Linked DNA regions of Homo sapiens: region 1 is linked to region 2. The links are contacts of gene promoters, found by promoter capture Hi-C in human tissues and cell types (Jung and others, 2019). All regions are on one chromosome and are shown on one strand. The core of a region is centred on a gene start or on the middle of the fragment in contact, and the rest is flanking DNA. Distances in the headings are between cores, read along the strand shown. Region 1 holds the start of ZBTB8B (zinc finger and BTB domain containing 8B). Region 2 holds the start of FNDC5 (fibronectin type III domain containing 5).

Evidence for each region. The method cuts DNA at HindIII sites, captures the fragments that hold promoters and counts their contacts. A contact is called where the count stands out against the background at its distance.
Region 1: the fragment with the promoter of ZBTB8B here is called in contact with the fragment with the promoter of FNDC5 in region 2 in 4 of the 25 tissues and cell types used here (hippocampus, liver, lymphoblastoid cells and 1 more).

What each region holds. Positions count from the first base shown.
Region 1 is chr1:32,463,768-32,467,209 of GRCh38, forward strand. ZBTB8B (zinc finger and BTB domain containing 8B) reads left to right here and starts at 1,305. Exons shown (of 4, transcript NM_001145720.2): 1 at 1,305-1,338. The HindIII fragment of the contact is 24,686 bases long and covers 1-3,442 here.
Region 2 is chr1:32,869,588-32,873,062 of GRCh38, forward strand. It overlaps FNDC5 (fibronectin type III domain containing 5), which reads right to left and starts at 1,325. Exons shown (of 6, transcript NM_001441683.1): 1 at 1,066-1,325. The coding sequence starts at 1,303. RefSeq lists an enhancer at 3,093-3,475. The HindIII fragment of the contact is 14,778 bases long and covers 1-3,475 here.

The sequences.
Region 1 (3,442 bases), core at 55-2,554, 410 kb before region 2:
TGCAATCTCTTTGGTTCAAGCATTCTCCTGCCTCAGCCTCCCAAGTAGCTGGGATTACTGGCCCACGCCCGGCTAATTTTTGTATTTTTAGTAGAGATGGGGTTTCACCATGTTGGCCAGGCTGGTCTCGGACTCCTGACCTCAGGTGATCCACCCGCCACCACTCCAGCCTGGGCAACAGAGTCTGAGACTCCGTCTCAAAAAAAAAAAAAAAAAAAAAAAAAAAGTCATACTGGCATAGAGTGAACCCCTAATCCAATATGACTGGTATCCTTATAAAAATACTTTTTTTTTGGAGACGGAGTCTCTCTCTGTCGCCCCAGGCTGGAGTGCAGTGGCGCGATCTCGACTCACTGCAACCAAAAGGAGACATTTTGACATGGAGACATATACAGGGAATATGCCCTGTGAACATGAAGATGGCCATATGCAAGCCCAGGAGAGAAGCCTGGAAGAGACCGTTTCCTCACAGCGCTCAGAAGGAAAGAACCCTGCCAACATCTTGCTTTCAGATGCCCCCAGGATTGTCAGACAATAAGATCTGTTATTGACGCCACCGGGTTGGTGATACTTAGGTACAGCAGCCCTAGCAAACGAATACACCCCCATGAGAACTAAGCTCCCTGAGAGCGGTAAGCTGCCTTGTCTTGCTCACAGCTGACAAGAACACGCCTGTACGGTCACTTAGCACCTAGTACTGCCATTTAACCGTTTCACTAGTATGTATGAACCGGAGAGCCTGTCAAGGGAAGAGCTGAATCTTTTATCTTTTGTAACGACTACCCAGTGAAAGAAACCGCGGGTATGCAATAAAAACCTGTTGAATCGATTAAACCATTTCCCTTATTTCCAGATTTTTGCGGAAAGCGCCAGTAGGTGAAATATGTGCGGACTGATGAGTCAAAGCTCTTATTCCCTGGACTGCATTAATACCCACGACGTGCTTTTCGCTCTCCAGACAAAGAGACCGGTACTTGGCAGGTCCCTCAAGTGGGACTCAAAAGACCGAACCGAGCTGCAGCCTTTCGCTAGCACTGGTCCTCGCCCCTTTTGGCATCTTGGTACTTGTAGTTTTGTCCACTCTATCTTTACCCGAAAAGCCAGCGCTGAGACCACAACTCCCATCACCCTGCGAGCACCAGCGCCTTCAGAGCGCATCCTCCGAGGGGCACCAGCGCCATTGACCACCCTGCTGGCCGAAGGGCCCGCCTTCCCGAGGCCAGGCGCTCCCGCGATTGGCCAGCCGCCCCGCCTCTCATCGGAGGGCGCCAGGTGAATGAAAGGGGGGCGTGTCGGTGCGCGGTGCTCCGTGGCTGCGCTGCTGGAACCCGCTGGAAGGTGAGCGCGAAGAAGCGGGTTGGCGCTGCCGCTTTCGTTGGTTTGGGGAGGATTCCTAGCACCCGGGAGGCTGGCTGGAGATTGGGGTTAGCGGGCAGGGTTGCCCCCACTCAGTCATCCTCCTTCGGACCGCTTGGCCCTGGCAACTCCTGGGACCTCCGCCCCGCGAGCCCTTCTAGCGTGGGGAGGGGCAGGCGCGGCCGTGGGGCCCCAGCTTCCCTGTCATTGGGTGTCCTCCGCGTCGTCCAGCCGGGGGTCGCGGCGCCGACTACTTCCACGGTGAATGGTGCCCAGGCGTGGGGGGCTCGGCCACACTGGAGAAGTGCCAGCGGCAGCGATGGCCACTTTGTCCGCGGGAGGCCATGGGAGGGGCTAGGCCTTGGGGTCCCACCCTCGGGGGCCGTGCCCTGTAGCTGGTTCTGGTGGCCTCTCTGCAGGTCGTCTGATGCTGGACGGGGGAGGGTCTGTCTTGCGAGCAGTTTAGATGCAGTTGACCCTGAAATTCTTCGTATGGAAATGGAAACTTCTCCAGTGTCCTTCTCCTCCGATCCATGCCTAAAAGAAAGGAGTGACTTCCCCAACCTGTCGCATCGTGTCCTGGAGGGTTTGAGGAGGCCGGTTAGCATAGTGGTTAAGGATGTCAACCCGGGAGTCAGTCGGATCTCTGTTCTATTACTAACTTGGTGATGTTATCTGCATCTTTGAATCTCAGTTCCTCCTCTGAAAAAGAGGATGTAGTTAGAGTATCTGTCGTACTGGATTATTGTGAGGTGAAAACTAATGTGCTTGTAAAAGCCAGGCATGGTGGCGCGCACCTGTAGTCCCTGCTACTCGGGAAGCTAAGGTTGGGAGGATCTCTTGAGCCCAGGAGTTCCAGGCTGCATTGAGGTAGGATCGTGCACTCCAACCTGGGCAACCGAGCAAGACCGTGCCTTTTAAAAATTTTAATTTAAAAAGTAAAATGAATATGCTTGTACTTTGTACAGTGTTTTATAAGGAATAGTGCTTAATATTTACTAAAATTGAGGAGCAGGTTTTTGTTATTCTCAGGTTGGTGGGACTGGAGGAGTCTTGTCAGAAAGGGTCGGAGGTGGAATTCAAGGCTGCTTTTGGCCTCTGAACAGAGACAGTTGTGTGATCTGGCTAGGACTCCCTCAAGGGTATATGAGAGTTTGTATTGCAGGTAGTTGTGTTGGCATCTGCTGTCTCCTGGAGGACAGGCACTATACTTGGTTCATTTTTCTATTCCTGGCATCTTCCTTGTGTCAGGCATTGTATGTAGCCGGTAACCGTTGAATTGAGTTGGAACCGTGGGATGGTTGGGAGGTTCCCTGCCAGAGTGCGGATAAATGTGCTTCTGAGAGCAGTCTGCCCTAAGAGCTGCTCTTCTGGGATAAGTGGTGATCCTCAGCACTTCCCGGGGCAGCAGAGCACTTCAGGCAAATGGGGGTGATATAAATAAATATTTACACAATATATACCAAGTACAGGATTGGGGAAAATTTTGAAGAAAATACTATACGGATAGACTTTTGCAACGTCAGGAAGTAGAATAAAAATAATTGCAATAGAATAAAAAATAATTTCAGTAAGAAAGCCAAAAGAAATTGGTTTTAGGTGCTATTTCTGGAAAGGAGGCTTTTCCAGTGAAAGACGGAAGTGCCCTGGGAAGAGCCCCTATAGATCAGACCATACTACAAGTTAAGAAGTGTTGTGCGTACTTACATATTTATCTACCTGGCTTACCAACTCCTTACCCCTCTGCCCTGCCTCCTTTTTTTCTTAGTTAACAAAGAAAAAAGCCAAGGCAGAAGGATCACTTGAGTCCAGGAGTTCAAGACCATTGAGACCAGCCAGGGCAACATAGTGAGACCCCATCTCTACAAAAAAATGTTTTCAGAATTAGCTGAGTGTGGTGCTGCATGCCTGTAGTCACAGCTACTTGGGAGGCTGAGGTAGGAGGATTGCTTGAGCCTGGGAGGTCGAGGCGGCAGTGAACTGTGATCATGGACTGCACTCCAGCCTGGGTAACAAAGTAAGACCCCGTCTCAAAAGAAAAGAAAAGCAATACATGCACATAGTAAAACATTCTATCAGAAAGGTT
Region 2 (3,475 bases), core at 75-2,574:
TTCCAGCCCCAAGATGCAGGTGGGGAGGTGGCAGGGGAAGATGGGGTCACTCAGAGCAGGGCCCCTCCATGGCGAGTGGAGAGGAGAGAACAGGTAGGGGAAGAGGATGAATGAGGAATCACTCCAGAAGAGACAGGAGGGAAGTGGGGGTGAGAGTGATAGGGATAGTGGGGGTCAGTGAGGAAAACCGTCCAGGAGAGGGGCAGTGCAGTCACATAAGGCTCAGTATCTTCCAAGGGGCAGGTGCAGCACGGGGCAGAGCTGCGCCTGAGCAGCACCCCTCACCCCACAGAGAGTGAACTTGAGACCCAGGGGGCTGGGCCTGGGACCTGAGGGAGACAGAGCCAGACATGGAGGGGGAGGTGGAGAGACAGGACACAGACAGGTGGTGGCAGACACAGAACCAGAGGACAGAGAAGTGGGGCATCTGAGAAAGACAGCTGCGAGAGAGCGCTCCCCGAGCCACGGAGGGAGAGATGAGCCGGGCAGCGGCAGCCAGGAGGGACAAAGACAGAGTGGCAGGAGAGGCTGGGCAAGGACGGGCCGGCCCCATGGGGCAGGCCAGACACTGTACCAGATCAGGGGTGCCGGGGCCCACCCCACGCCCTGCGCCCTCAGGTGCCAGCCCCCATCCCCTTCACACGTGCTCCTGCACAGCGGGACCCCATCTGCCCCTGCAGAGTTGGCTTGCAGGGCTTTGAGAGGTCCTGGGGACACAGAGAGAGGCCCAGGTGGGGGAACTGGTGTCCTCAGCTGCTCCCTGGGTCAAAGAAGGGAGCTAGGGAAGCTGAGGCAAAGACCTGGGGTTAGGGGAATGGGATTAGGGGACTGGGGACCACAAGACCCTAGGAAACCCAGGGCTGAGGTGACAGGGGAGATTTGGAAACTGAAGGACAGGTCTGGGGGTCAAGGAGGTAGGAAGACGCTGGGGGCTGGGTTAGGGGAGCAGTGTTTGGGCCGAGACAGGAGTCCCTAGGGGGCAGAGAAAGGACCAGGGGACTCCCAGGTAGCTGGGCTCGAGAGGAGCCTGCCCCGGCGCCGGCCCCCCGCCCCGGGCCCCCTTACCCGCCTGCACCAGCGCGAAGCAGACGCAGCCCAGCCACAGGCGGAGCGCGGCGCGGGCGCGGGGCGGCCAGGCGCTCGGCGACCCGGGGTGTATGGTGGCTCCTCCGGCCGGCAGGCCCGGGGCGGCGCAGGGGGACGCGGCTCCGGCGCCCGGCGGCCGCTCGCGCTCGCGCTCCGGCCCCCGGCCCGGCCGGCCCGGCCGCTCCGGCCGCCCTGCGCCGCCCCGAGCCGCCTGCATGTCGGCTCCGCGGACAGCGACTCCCGCGCGGCGGCGGTGGCGGCGGCCGCGTCCACGTCGGGCGCCCGGGGGGCGGGGCGCCCCCGCTGCGGGGAGAGGTGCGGGGGCGGGGTGAGGACCGGAGGGCGCCCCCACTCCCGCCCCCGCTGCCTATTAGGTCCTCTGCCGGGGAGGAAGGGGCTTCGCGGACCCACGGCTCCCGCCCTCTCACCGAGCGGGAGCCCAGCGGGGTTCTCCGCGCCCCCGCCGCGGTCACTCTCTCTCCCGTGCACAGCCCTGACTTGGCTGCCGCTTTCTGCCCTTTCCCAGGGTAGAGAGAGGACAAGTGCCACCGAGATGCCCGTTTGTGCCCCCACCCCTAAGCGCGCCTCCCTTCCCTGGGCCTAGGGATCCCCTCATTCCACGGTAGACCCGAGGCCTTGCGGCTGGGGCAGACGGGAGCAGAGGGGAGAGATCACAGTAAGGCTGGGGTGAGCAGAGAGTGCTAAGTGGACACTAGGGCTCCGTGTTTCCAGTGGGGTTGGGAAGAGGCTGCTCTGTCTCACTGGAGAGTCCAGCTCTGTGACCCCAGGCCAGTCCTTTTCCTTCATTTTCATCCCCATAGTGAGGGCAGTAATGAGCGTCTACCAGGGGCCAGATACTATGCTGAGCTTTCTTTGCATTATGTGGCTTAATTCTCAGGGCAACCCTGTAAAGTCATACTCTGCACACTTTGCACAGGAGGAGCCTGCAGCTTGGACAGGCTACTTGACTTGTCCAGGGACCCGCAGCAGAGCCAGGATTTGAACACAGGCTGATCTGACTCCCAAAGCTGTGCTTAACTGAACTGTCTCCCCACCCAGAGTGACTTCACCCATCCGGAGATTCGTGAGACTCTAGAATTGGCCGGGGCCAGCTCCTCCCCAGCCAGAAAACAGTCTGCAGCAATCTCTAAGAGCATCTCTGAGAAGGGGAGTGGCTCCAGCCCCCTTCCCTCATCTCAGCCAGAGAAACAAGGTGGAGGAGAGAGGCATGGACCAGGGCTCAGGGCCTTTTGTCTCAGCAAGAACCCCTGAGCCCCCTCCCACGACTATCCGAAATTCCACTACTAGCGGGGCATTCCTTTGGGTCTTAAAGGTTTTCCAGAAGCCCTGGAAGGGCTAATTTTCTTTGGAAAGGAGACGTCTTGCAAAGTTCTGCCACAGAAACGTCTTCAGGGTCTTCCTCTCCATCCCCCTGGTTTTACATTAAGGAAGTGAGGTCTACCGATGGGAAGAGCTTGGTGCAGATTCACACAGTGGGTCAAGAGGAGCGATAGACAACCCTCCTCTCCTTATGCCCACCCAGGACTCCTTCGCTGGCCCTGTGTTCCTCCTTGGTCACCTTGGAAGGGGTGAGATGGAAGCGAGCTTAGGGGCTCTTGTTGAGCAGCAGAATTTTCCTGCCCATCCCCTCAGTGCCCCCAGACCTGCCCCACTCGGCAGGGTGACACTGCCCAGCCCTATCATTTCCCCCGCCACATACCTTGTCCTGGGAGAGCCTCAGCTGGGACCTCGACCCGTTTGGGAGAAGAGCCCCGGAGCCAGAGCACCTCTCTCTCTCTTTTCTCTTTGCTCTCTTTCTCTTTCTCTCCCCTTATTATCTTCTCTCTCTTTCTCCCCGCAGCTGCTGCCTGCCCCACCCCACCCGGCCCCGCCCCACCAGCTGCAGCTTAGCCCCTAGGGACCCCCCACCCCCCATCCATCAGACAGGAAGACAACCAGGAGGCCCGCAGGAGCAACTGGAGCCTCTTCAGGCCTCCAGCACAGGAACCAGCAGGAAGGAGAGGGTTCAGTTAGAGGACACAGAATCTACTCCCGTCCCTGCAGGGGAGAAAAGGAGGGAGGGTCCTGGTGGGGTCTTGGCCTCCAGTCCAGCGCTGGGGAAAGGGGAACCTTGGCGCCATCTGCTGGCCTCTTTGGGTAAAACCTAGATAGATGTAGGGCATTGGGAGGGAGGAGATGGCAGTGCCTGAGGGCTTGAGAGAGAAGGCGGCTGAAGGAGGGGGCTTGGAGGATTTGGAGAGTTGTGACTGTGGGGGTACAGCCTTCTCAGTCCTCATGATGCATGGGGTGCTTGGGCCTTAATTCTGGGGAAAGCCCTGGTGCCTGGAATCTGGCAGCCAGTGAGAGCTGGCTGGGAGGATTTAGTGGA